2 separate regions of the Homo sapiens genome follow, and region 2 is linked to region 1. The links are contacts of gene promoters, found by promoter capture Hi-C in blood cells and fetal thymus (Javierre and others, 2016). All regions are on one chromosome and are shown on one strand. The core of a region is centred on a gene start or on the middle of the fragment in contact, and the rest is flanking DNA. Distances in the headings are between cores, read along the strand shown.

The links. The method cuts DNA at HindIII sites, captures the fragments that hold promoters and counts their contacts. A CHiCAGO score of 5 or more calls a contact.
Region 2: a contact is called between a fragment that was not itself captured here and the fragment with the promoter of ABLIM3 in region 1, in 1 of 17 cell types (erythroblasts). The highest score is 6.3, in erythroblasts.

What each region holds. Positions count from the first base shown.
Region 1 is chr5:149,138,185-149,144,730 of GRCh38, forward strand. ABLIM3 (actin binding LIM protein family member 3) reads left to right here and starts at 3,309. Exons shown (of 24, transcript NM_014945.5): 1 at 3,309-3,470; 2 at 3,825-3,924. The coding sequence starts at 3,912. LOC124901102 (a long non-coding RNA gene) reads left to right here and starts at 3,932. Exons shown (of 2, transcript XR_007058988.1): 1 at 3,932-4,605; 2 at 5,249-5,414. RefSeq lists a silencer at 3,175-3,424 and enhancers at 3,730-4,231, 4,232-4,731. The HindIII fragment of the contact is 6,101 bases long and covers 3,011-6,546 here.
Region 2 is chr5:148,737,138-148,743,683 of GRCh38, forward strand. No RefSeq gene overlaps it. Among named protein-coding and RNA genes, the nearest start is that of HTR4, 86 kb to the left of the region's middle. The HindIII fragment of the contact is 1,312 bases long and covers 1,909-3,220 here.

The sequences.
Region 1 (6,546 bases), core at 2,059-4,558:
CCCCTCAGAGAAGTTGGAAGGTTTGTCTCCCAATGATTTTGCCACATGGTTTTTCAACACCCAGAGCCTTTGCCAGTTTCCCGGTGAGATTTGTTTATCTCCATTCTGGAGTCTTAATGTTCAAAACAAACTTCCAGACAAAGGGATCCTCTGCTCTGTGGTTCTCAGCTCCATTCTCCTGCAAGGACAGAGTCAACAACACCGATCCCCTGATGACTTTCACAGCCATGTCCACAGAGAATCCCACCCCCAGCTTCCTCCTGCGTCTTTCCCGCTGCCTCTGATTGTTGTGGACATCCTCAAGGGCATAGCTTGTATAGCTTATTTTAGCCCCTTTTTTCCTATCCTTATAAACTATGCAGAGAAAATAAGATTGTTCCCCCGGCAGATGTTATTTGGGCCTTAAAAAGTGGCCCAAGACCCAGTGATCTCTTCTAAGAGGTGAAGTCATCAGCATCTAGCTGGATACATTATCGAAAAGAACCCCAGACAAGAAGAATTCATCAATTAATCTCATTAATTGATGAATAATTAATTCATTAATTCATCAATTAATTTATCAATTAATTAATCACCTGAAAATTTTCAGGCATATTTTCGTGGCCACCACTCTGTGGAAAAGCCCAACAGATTTCCATAAGTAGAAAATGACAGCATTGTCACTGAGGGCAGGTATAAGTGAGGGGTGATATTAATAATTAGTATGCAACCAGCCTTTATTTGTCATGCATTACACTAAGTCCTTTAATATATACGACAATCCAAAAGGTAGGCACTGTGGTTGTACCCTTGTACAGATGAAAACTTTGAGGCTTATAGAGGCTAAGTATCTTCCCCAAAGTGAGACAGCTAGAAAGTGATGAAGCTGAGATTAAAAGTCAGGAAGGCTGGAAACGGCACCTGGGCTCTTCCCCAGGCCACCATCGGGTTTAGCTAATTTATATTTTGCTTAGTTAATTGTCTCCCCGCTGTCCCAGGATTGGATTTATGCTTATGAGGTTGGAGTTCTTTTTATTTCTTTATTTTTTATTTTTTCTGCAATCATCCATTATTGGGTAGAGCTCTTGTCTGTCCTGTTCTCCACGGTATCCCCAGAAGCCAGCACTGGGGCTACCACAAAGCATACCCTCGATAAATAATTGCTGAGTGAATGAACTAATGAATGAATATCATGCTTTCATTTGACTATTTCTTATAATTTGAAATTTTCTGAACATTGAGGCCTTGGGTGATAACTAAATATGCTCATGGAATAGAACAGTTAATTTTACATGTCTAATTTATCTGAACTTTCTCCCAGAAAAATGTTTTTCCAAGCATTAGAATCTAGCAAGTTACCTGCAACTTGGAAACTGAACAAGGAATCCCATCTGAAAATGTAGAGGACACATAAAGTGGAATAATTTAAATATTTACTAATCACTTACGTTTTCAAAGCTATTTTAGGCCTCTACCCTTTTCAAAGAGCTGTCTATGAATCACCTGGGATGCTTGTTTCAAATGCTGAGCAAGGGAGTCCAGGGCCTGGGAATCTGCATTTTTGGAGGTATCTCAGGCGTTTGTTATCGACACAAAATTTTAAGAACGACCGTGAGGACATTAGGGCTATTTTTACCTCCACCCCATTGGACAAAATTCTTTTTTAAAAAATTATTATTATACTTTAAGTTCTAGGGTACATGTGCACAACGTGCAGGTTTGTTACCTAGGTATACATGTGCCATGTTGGTTTGCTGCACCCATCAACTCATCATTTACATTAGGTATTTCTCCTAATGCTATCCCTCCCCCAGTCCCCTATCCCACAACAAGCCCCAGTGTGTGATGTTCCCCTCCCTGTGTCCATGTGCTCTTATTGTTCAACTCCCACTTATGAGTGAGAACATGTGGACAAAATTCTTAACAATCTATCAAATGTGTTTCAAATCTATTGATCCTTAGGTTTATCCAAAGATTCTTTAATCCTGATCACCTCTCGGGGTCATGAGCCATATCCTTTTTTTCCTCCCTGTGTAAGGTAGAAACGTTGTATTTATCTAAAAGCATTGTATAAAAACATCGTATTTGTCTTTCCCCAATTTTAATAGGGCAGCTATCTAATCTCACACTGATATCCCAGACTTTAGTGCACTGAGCCACTCTCACACAGGATCAAGCTAGAAGTGAGAAGATCTGGTCCGATTCTGCCACAAGATGCTGTGTGTCTTAGGGCACGTTGCCCAGCCTCTCTGACACCCTGTTTCCTTGTCTAAGCTGGGGCTGTGAGTGTTCACAGCCTTTTGAGTCTGCACATGCTCTAATTGAAGTCATGCTATAGACAAGGATCATGTGCCCTCACAGTCTTGTTTTTCAGCACTCAAAAGTCATGCTTCTATGATCATGAATTAGGTTCAGAAAGTGACAGAGTAAGTAGTCACAGGAATGTAAAGAGCCCTACCCCACTGAATCAATTGTGACTAAAACACTTTGGAATATAAACTTCTACAATACACACGTATAAGACATAATTACAAAAAAAAAAAAAAAAACAACAACAACTTGGGGGAAGAGTTAGTTGACCATATGAAAACTAGGGTGGACCTGTGAGGCCACATACCTGCTGTTCTCCTCAGACGGGGAAGTGTTTCAGGGTGGGGCGCCTAGGCAGTCTACTCTTAGGGCTGTGTAATATTAAACCCAGAAAATGTCTGGGTTGCTCTGTCAACAAATATTTATTGGTAGCCACTATATGCCGGGCCCTGTGCTAGGTATTGGGGGCCTGTAGGTGAACCCTACGGACAGACCCATTCTTTCACGGAGCTAACATTCTCGTGGGGAAAAGAGGTAATAAACAATTCTAATGATGAATCAGCGATAGAGGATAAAGGGAATCTGTGAGGGAAGAGGGGACATAAACGCTGGGAGGCTGGAAGAGCCCCTTACGTGTTATCCACTTGTCCAGACGCCATATTCATAGTTGAGAAAGATGAGGCAGAGACGGTAGTGACCGGCTTGAGCCTAGACTGCGCCAAGCTTGCCAGAGCAGAGCCGGGTGGAAACTGTCTTCCTGCAAAGCCAGGTTTTCCTTCACGGCCCCTCCTAATGATGTTTCTTTTCCTATCATTGTCGAGCCCTTAGAACCCCAGGATCGAGGGAGGGAAAACAAGCGCTCAAGCACTCCCTCGTTGGTCCCAGGACACAAGGCCTCGTCCATCTCACAAGGCCTCGTCCATCTCCCATCACACCCTAGGGCCCAGGCAGAAGCCCGGCGGGGCGGGGCCTCGGACACGCGCCGGTGCGTCCAGCAGGTGGCAGCAGCGAGCGGCCGCGCCCCCTGCGCTGCCAACCCGCGAGCCCGCATCATGGATGTCGAGCTCCCCTATTTCGCATTGCTAGCCCTGGAATTCGAGACCCCAGACGAGGACCAGGATTCATGAAATCAGTCGCAGGGGCCGGGGCAGGGGCCTCTGGCTCCCGACACTGGCCGAGAGGTGGGTTCCGGGGCGGGTCGCTGCTCCTTGAAGCCGGGCGGGGACGCGCTGCCCCCGCCCTGCCTCCCTGTGGTCCACACCCCCTTTGGGCTCCGGAGCCGCTGGGCAGGAATAGTCCGGGGTGCGCGCGAGCAGGCGCTGCCAACCCCACTTCTGCCCGGGATTCCAATCTGAGGAGCAGGAGGACCGGGGCGCCGGTGTCCTGCCGCCTCCTTCTCCTTGCTCTCACCTGCGCCTATTAGTCCACGCGCCTTCAAGGCCAGGGGCTACAGCCCAGACAGAGAGGGGACAGCAGAGGGAGAGAGAGCACCTGAGGATACAGAGCTGGCACTGGACTGCCTTTTCACCCCCCAGGTGATGAGTGAGGTTCGAAGAACGGAAGATTTAAAAAGCAGCCGGGGCCTCCGTATTGAATGAAAGACCCAGTGCAAAGACATCACCATGAACACTAGCAGTAAGTGGATCCTCCTCTCCTTTGCCATGGGAACAGGGGTGGGGGCGGGAGGTGAGGGAGCCTGCGCTCGGGCTGCCTGGAAAGAGGAAGGAAGCCTGGCATCTCTGGACACATGACCCCCAGGCTCTTTTTTGGTGCTTTCCGTGCTCCTTGGCAGAGGGATAGCTTCATGACTCTGGCTTTTCGTGATAATTTTGCCAATATTTTATCAGCGGCGCCGGCCGCCTCTCCTGGGAAGGCTGCTCGTCTCCTTCTAGCACTGCCTGGGAAGGCCTAGGAAGCAGTGTGTGGCCATTGTCTGACTGTGGGGGCTCTGAGGAGAACTCCCTGCACACATCTGGAAAACCATGGAGGGCCCTGCCTGTCCCAGAGGTGGGAAGAGCAGGGAGGCTGGCCTGTGGGCAGGCGGGAGGGTAGGTGGGTGTGGGCAGGCAGTGGGCTGGGAAGCCGCAGTTTGATAAACAAATAATCGCCAAGCCACCTTTGGGTCTGGAGATTGTGAAAGATCCAGCTCCCGAGTGCCTGCAGCCCGGTGGGCCCAGGGCTGGTTTCTCTATGTACCTGCAGGCTGGTTAGCTATCCTTGAGAACAAGAAGACAGGAACAGCCCTTTGGCCAAGGGCTCTAACATGCCAGAGGCAACAACTGCTTGCAGAGCCAGGACCAGATATTTTGCTGCCAGGTAGGGCCTCAGCTACTGAGAATGCAGTCCGAAATTCAAGAAGGCACAGTCTGTTTCTCTTCAATGTAGCGCTGTGACCTGGGAGGGCATATCTTGGTTCCAGACTCACTCTCCTGCCCTCTTGTCAGCTTGGCCTGTCTAGGTTATTCCAGCATCGCATAGGGCTGTTGAACCAGAGAACCCCTATGAACAGTCACTTCCCTGGGTCTATGACTTTGTTATCAGTCCCCTCTCTGCATCTCAGACTGCTCATCTGTATGATGAGAGGGGTTGAATTAGAAAGCCTTCTAATCGGCCAGGCACCGTGTTCCATGCCTGTAATCCCAGCACTTTGGGAGGCAGAGGCAGGTGGATCACGAGGTCAGGAGTTCGAGACCAGCCTGACCAACATGATGAAACCCCGTCTCTACTAAAAACACAAAAATTAGCCAGGTGTGGTGGTGTGGGCCTGTAATCCCAGCTACTCAAGAGGCTGAGGCAGGAGAATTGCTTGAACCTGGGAGGCAGAGGTTGCAGTGAGCCGAGATCACACCACTGCACTCCAGCCTGGGCGACAGAGTGAGACTCTGTCTCAAAAAATAATAATAATAATAATAAAAGAAAGCCTTCTAATCTAAGAATCTACACTTTTTTTCTTAAAAAGCTAGAGCTGAGCAACAAGGCCAGAACTATCAAGACCTTATTGAAGCTGTATCCAGCCAAAACCTACTATTTCCTCACACACCCCACCCCACCCCCACCTCCTAGCATGGAAGAGAAAAAAAAAAGCAAAAGCTACTGAGATGAAAATAAAATATATTTATTTACTACGTATTTGTATGATTCATCTCTCTGCTGTCTTCCTTTGTGTATTGCATATCTATGCTAAGCTAGCGAGTGTGGCTGGACTCCCTCTGCCTCTTACAGCCAAAGAATTTTGCCTTTTGATTTTGACAGGCTGGAATGGTGTTTTGGCTTCATACCAGGCTCAGGAAAAGAGGAAAATCCTGTAGCCTCTATCAGCTAGTGGGTCACATGTTTGCATTTGCATGTTTTCAGGCAAATAAAGATGTGAGTTGCCTGTCACTTCTCACTATCTCTAGGAAAAAAAAATGTATTTATGAGAGTCCTTTCCCACTAAGTGACAGAAAAGAAAGATGGCTCATCTATTTTTCAAGGAACTAAGAAAAGAAACAGGCAACTGACTCTGCCCTTTTCTCTCTCTGGAATGCTAAGGAACTCTTGTCCTATTAGTAACACTGAGTATTCCTGAAAGAAGGAAACAGACTATCCTTCTTTTAAGAAAAAGAAAGAAAGAAAAGAAAAAAGAATCAATAGAGTTGGATACTGCAGAATATGAGGACTGGCAAAAATGCCACTACTTTTTATAAGCAGGGAGAGTGTGTGAATTTTGCAGTAATGGAAAATGAACAGAGGAGAATGGCTCAGCAGCCTTGGAAGCCCTCCGGGTTCCCCCCAGGAGGAAGTGCTTCTCTAAACAGACACCTGGGGGACACAGCAAGCACAGAGCTTTGAGGGCTTAACTCCATCATCATGGAGGTACCTCCCAAACCCACGAGTCTGCAAATGCAGAGAGTAGACATCAGACCTCACAAGAAAAGGAGTAACAGAGCCATAGGGTGATATGGATAGGGCATTGGCAGGAGGTCCTTGGGTCACCTGACTAAGCAAAAAAGCTCCCCTTTGAGATGTGAAATTCTTAACTTGATCCTCATGCCTGATATTGTCCCTAATAGAAACTCTTGCTTAGTTTTTCTTTCACTTCTATTTATTTAGTCCTTATTCTCCACCAGCCACCATGCTAAGCACTCCCCTGATTGAGCTCACCAGACTGTCCCACCCAACCTGTGAGATGGGTGTTTTTACTCATTTTATGGGTGAAAATTTGAAGCTGTGTTCAGAAACGTTGTAGTTAATGCTCAGTGGCTTCTTCAAGTCATG
Region 2 (6,546 bases), core at 1,315-3,814, 400 kb before region 1:
GGGAACTTTGGTGGAAACAAATCAAACAAGTAGCAATAGAGTGTGGAAGAAAGTAAGTGGGGTGAACTCCTGAGATCTAGCTTTGGCCTGATATTAACAAGTTGAGTGACCTCAAACAGATCCTTTTCTTCCTGGATCACTGGATTTTGTCTTTTTCCTTCACTTGAGTGAAGTGAATTCTCAGGTGATAGCACCCTGTTTTTCACTTGTGGATATACCTCTCCTCTATTGTGAAATCATAATGTTTAGGTGGGACTGACCCTTCCCCCAGTTGGCAGATCCCATCCCTCTGGCCACAGTGATGGGCCACGGCTGAGAACAGGACCCAGTTAGAGCCAGTGAAAAGACTTGAGAACTGTAACTGGACTTCTGAGGGAGAAAGGTTATCTGTTCAATAGATTTGAGGTCATGAGCATGTGAGGCTTGGAGCTGCTCTAACCATCTTGCTGTCACGAAACAGCCAGCTATGAAGTAAAGCCAATACATGAATGGAGAAAAGCAGAGCAAATATAAAAGTAGACACACTGTGTCTCAATGACATTCTCTGAACTCCTAGATCAAACTGTGCCCCAAACCAAAAGCCACCCCTGGATTTAAGCCAATGAATTCCTTTGCTCATTTAAACTGGTTTAAACAGGACTTTTGGTCACTTGCAAGGGTAATAATCCTAGCTACTATACTCACATCTCTGAACCTTAATTCCCTCTACTGCAAAACAGCTGTTTTGTGGGTAGTAATTACCATAAGAGAGCATAACGGTATTATCTCTTTCAGGAGTGGCCATAATTCCAAGGTAGCAAAGACAATTTTTCAAAATGCCAAGAGCTGCTTTCTTCATTCACTAAGCATCATATTTTCAGCATCTTGGACATCTTACATGACAGCCTTTAATACATGTAATTATTATTGTTCACATGTAATTCTGCATCCCCAGCTGATGTCTCTCTTCTGAGCCTCAGATGCCATATCCATCTGAATGCTGGACACCTCCACCTAGATGTTTTCATCTCAACCTGGCAGGTCCAAAATTGAGTGGATCTTCCCACCCAACCCCAAACCCCTATCATGTTCCCAAGCAAAACCCAGCTTCCCAAGCCTGAAACCTACAAGTTGCCCTTTTCTCCTCTCTTTCTTTTTAATTCATTCCATCCACAAGGCTTGATAAGTCTGTTTTCAAAATAGCTCTCATACTTTCACCTTTTTCTCCAACTGTCCTGACAGTTCTATATTAGGGCCACCATTATCTCTTGCCTGACCACTGGAAAATATTTCTAAAAGATTTGAAGATGGCTCTCTCCTTCTGGTTCTTAATGCAGTTCCCTCCTTTCGTCCCTTTGGGCTTAGAATTAGAAACACCTCTGCTGCCACTACCCCTGGGTGACTGCATCAGCCTTTGTGCCTCCTCCTTACAAGCAAACCGTCTCTGAATTGTTCTAATTTGAGGATCCCATCTCTTTCCCATTGGGATTTTAAACCCTATAGATCCTTCCATGAACACTTTCCTCCCTACAGTCTGACTCCTGTAATGACTCCTTCTCCCTCCCTTTCCTCCTTTCCTAGACGTCTGCTTACATAGCCTAGAAAGAAGGAGGGAGGAGAAAGCGGAAAGGCTCATGGTAGCAGGGCCAGTTTTGACTTTTAAGAAGCCCTGGGGATTTGTGGGGGGAACAGTGTTCTGGCTCCAGCTATTGCTGGCAATCTTTAGAATGTGGCACTAGATCCTCTTTGTCCATTGTTTGGGGTTCTACTTGTCAATACTGGAATAATAGGAAAAGTGTGATATACCATCCTATCACATATGGCCGTCTGCAGCGGGACTTAATGAAGCTTTCAAATACACAGAGGCCTTGTCACCATAGCTCTTTCTAATGCTAGTCAATACTTTCTATGTATTAGGTTTCTTGCTAAAGCTTTGCCTTGAATGTTTACATGCGGGCAATACCCAAGAACCTAACTGGAGGCAAGACAGGTGAGGGAAGCAGGACAAACACACCCAGTCTGACCCAGTCGATAATGAGTTTTCTACATCTGAGAATGTGATATTTGTGTAACACGTTACAGTTTAACAGGAGCTTTCATCCCCCTTTAGCTGGCACATGGCTGAGTAATCAATATATGTTTTCGTAAATGATTGAATGCAACTATAGAGTCATTTTCTCCTCCTCAAAATAACCCTGTGAAGTAGGCAGTGCAGGGATTATTATTCTCACTTTACAGAAAAGGAAACCAGGGCCCAAAGAAGTGAAATAGTTTCCTGAGTCCACGTAGTCAGTGACTGTATGTGCTCAAACCAGAACCAGCAGTGTCAGGCACCCATACTAGCTCATTTCAAAAGTCAGGAAGTCAGGAAGCAGGACGGTATTCTTGATAAAATAGGGAATTGGATTGGATCAAGTGCTTAAGTGTCTTCTCAGTATTAAGTCTCTATTCCTAGCCTCCCTCAATAATCTTACAGCACAGTTGGGAGCTGCCATGGAAGGGGATGGTAGGCAGAAGTTCAGGCTGCTAACCAGCTGGGAATTGAGTAAAAGGAACAAGAGAAAGGCCTTCTGGTGCCAAGACTCTGGAGAAATGTTTGTTGACTTTTGGCTTTGCATTGACTACTTCCAACTAGGCTTTGAAGCTGACTTTTTGATCCCAGGGCTCCCTGGGATGGGTGGGGGAGCTCATGACATTGTTGCTGTGGTTCTCCAGGCAACCACAAACCCTCAGTAGCTCCAGGAAGATGCCTTAATTACGTGGAAAGCGATGAGGGAACTACAGAGAAAACAAGAGATATCTACAAGGAAAGTGGGGCAAAAACAACAAGAATCTAAAGGGCAAAACAAGAGAGGCCCCAGGGGCGAAGCAACAGCCAGCACAGCAGCACTGTGAGGATGTTGATGGTGCCTCTCCTGGAGTCCTTCAGAATAAACTTGTCCCTTATAAAACTGAACTAGAAAGTGTCTAAAGGAATGAGAGCCCTAGCTCTCAGCCAAGTCTCCTAAAATAAGTTTTAAGAGATGGAGTGATGTTCTAAAAACACAGACCTAAATATTCACTCCCTTGCTCATAAGCTCTCTTTGCTCCTTGTTACCCTCCAGATAAAGTCTGTGCTCCTCGGCAGAGCTCAAGGACACTATTCAGTTCCTCTCCATGCCCCATGACTCTCTCGAATCTGGTCTGGGCATTTGTGCAAGGTTCTCCCTCCTTGGCAAATCACTACTTATCTCAAGGTCTAAGCTTCAACATTAATTTTTCTAGGAACATCCCCTCGATCCTATTCCCATCCCCATATTAGGCACAGTGTTCCTTCTGTATGTTCCTACAACATCACGATCTTTCATAATGGCCACATCGCTGGCACCGTTAGGTGCATGTCCGTCCCCTTCTCAGATACATCTCTCACATGAAGCAGAGGTCCGGGCACTTAGGAAGTGCTCATTAAGTATCTGTTGGATAAATAATAATGAGAAACAGTCAAAATCTCTAAAAGAGCCTTCTGTTTCACCAAGCAAAGAGGAAGGAAAATAACCAAGTGTGGGACATTGAGCAAAGAGATTATTTTTAACAGGAACAGAAACCCAGACAAATAAATGGCCCTTAATTTATGTCAGGGTTATCAAGAAATATATTATGCCCTTGATAATTGTGCAGTTATAATTACTTCTTCTGGAAACTGGGCTTTGTTGGAAGAAAGATTGGAGAGATTTGGAGATAAGTTTCCTTAGGAATAAACATGGAGAATCAAAATCCACCAAATGCCTGGATATCTCGGAAAAGAGATCAAACTGAAATAAGTGAGTGGACAGAACAGCCAATGTGGGTCTGACAGAGTAGCTGCGTCTAAAGGGGCAGCTGCTTCTCAGCTCCAGCCAATTGTTGAAATGCAAGAATACCAGCAGCAGCAGCCAAATCTCGTGACTGTCCCAGAGAGGACTCAAGTCCTTGTGGGGTGTGTACGTCTGCATGTGTGAAATCCTCTGGGTTCTAAATCTCCCCAGCTTGTTTACATTTTTAATAGTTACTAATCAGTCCAAAACAGCAAGTTGTATGAGTCCCAGAGATGCCAGGGTTTGACCTTCGCACCAAAAAACCTGACCTCCCATGGCTCTGTTTACCGAAAACTGTCAACACCAAACTGCAAGCGCCAAAGCTCCAAACAACATGATCCACCTGCAGAAAGTGATCAATACATGAGGGACTAAAGAAGAACAGAGGTTTGTCTGGGTCAGTTATTGGCACATAGTAAGTGGGTGCTCAGTCAATAAATAGCTGTTAAATGGGATAAAGAATAAGGAAATGGTGGATGTATGTCTGCAGTTCAAGGTTTGTACCACTAGATGGTGAAGTTTGTTTTTTTTCTGCAGATGTAAGCATAGAGAAATAAAATACTAGGATAGTTTTATGGATACATCTACAAGCCATGAGTACATAGCTCGGACATCCCACAAATGCTAACAGCTGTTTTCACATCGTCTTCGCTATTCCTCCTCACTTCCAACTCCAGTCAGCTCCGGATAAAAATAAAGTCATTAAAAGTAGCTGGCTTTCCTTGATATGAGAAGGACCATGTTAGAAATAGAGGATTACTAGAATTATACAACCTCCCAAGACTGAGCCAGGAAAAAGTTCAAACTCTGAACAAATTACGAGTTCCTAAATTGAATCAGTAATAAAAATCCTACCAACAAGTAAAAACCCAGGACCAGACAGATTCACAGCCGAATTCTACCAGACATATAAAGAAGAGCCAGTATTATTCCTATCGAAACTTTGCAAAAAATGGAGGAGAAGGACTCCTCTCTAACTCATTCTATGATGTCAGCATCATCCTGATTCCAAAACCTGGCAAAGACTCAACAACAACAACAAAAAAGGAAACTTCAAGCCAATATTCTTGATGGATATCTATGCAAAAATCCTCAACAAAATACTAGCAAACCAAATTCAGCAGCATATCAAAAAGCTAATCCACCATGATCAAGTAGGCTTTATCCCTGGGATGCAAGGTTGGTTCAACATATACAAATTAATAAATGTGATTCATCACATAAACAGAACTAAAAACAAAAACCATATATAATCTCAATAGATGCAGAAAGGGCTTTTGATAAAATTCAGCATCCTTTCATGTTAAAAACCCTCAACAAACTAAGCATTGGAGGAACATACCTCAAAATAATAAGAGCCATCTATTACAAACCCACAGCCAACATCACACTGAATGGGCAAAAGCTGGGAGCATTTCCCTTGAGAACCAGAACAAGACAAGGATACCCTCTCTCACCACTCCTATTCAATATAACACTAGAAGTCTCAGCCAGCATAATCAGGCAAGAGAAGGAAATAAAAGGGTTCCAAATAGGAAGACAGAAAGTCAAATGATCTCTGTTTGCAGACAATATTATTTTATCCTTAGAAAACCCCATAGTCTCGCCCCAAAAGCTCCTAGCTCTGATAACCAACTTCAGCAAATTTTCAAGATAAAAAATCTATGTACAAAAATTAGTCACATTTTTATACACCAATAATTCCCAAGCTGAGTGCCAAATCAAGAACGCAATTGAGGCTGGGCGCGGTGGCTCAGGCCTGTAATCCCAGCACTTTGGGAGGCTGAGGCGGGTGGATCTCGAGGTTAAGAAATTGAGACCATCCTGGCTAACATGGTGAAACCCTGTCTCTACTAAAAAATACAAAAAATTAGCTAGGCGTGGTGGCGGGCGCCTGTAGTCCCAGCTACTCGGGAGGCTGAGGCAGGAGAATGGTGTGAACCCAGGAGGTGGAGCTTGCAGCGAGCCGAGATTGCACCGCTGCACTCCAGCCTGGGTGAGAGAGCGAGACTCCATCTCAAAAAAAAAGAAAAAAAAAAGAATGCAATTGAATTCACAATAGCTACAAAAAGATAAAATACCTAAGAATACAGCTAACCAGGGAGGTGGAAAGACTTCTGCAACAAGAATTACAAAACGCTGCTGAAAGAAATCAGAGATGACATAAACAAATGGAAAAGCATTACATGCTCATGGATAGGAAGACTCAATATTGCTAATATGGCCATACTACCCAAAGCAATGTACAGATTCAATGCTATTCCTATCAAATTACCAATGACATTCTTAGCACAACTAGAAAAAATTATTCTAAAATTTATATGGAAACAAAGAATAGCCCAAATAGCCAAACACTCCTAAGGCAAAAGAACAAAGTTGGAGGTATCACATTACCTGACTTTATAGTATACTACAAGGCTCCAGTAAACAAAACAGCATGACACTGATACAAATACAGACACATAGACTAATGGAACAGAATAGACAGCCCAGAAGTAAATCCACAAACCTACAGTTATCTGATCTTTGATAAAGTTGACAAAAACAACCAATGGAGAAAGGACTCGCTATTCAATAAATGGTGCTGGGATAATTAGCTAGCCATGTGCAGAAGATTAAAACTGGACCCCTTCCTTGCACCATATAAAAATTAACTCAAGACAGATTAAATACTTACATATAAAACCTAAAACTATAAAAACTCTTGAAGAAAACATAGAAAATACCATTCTAG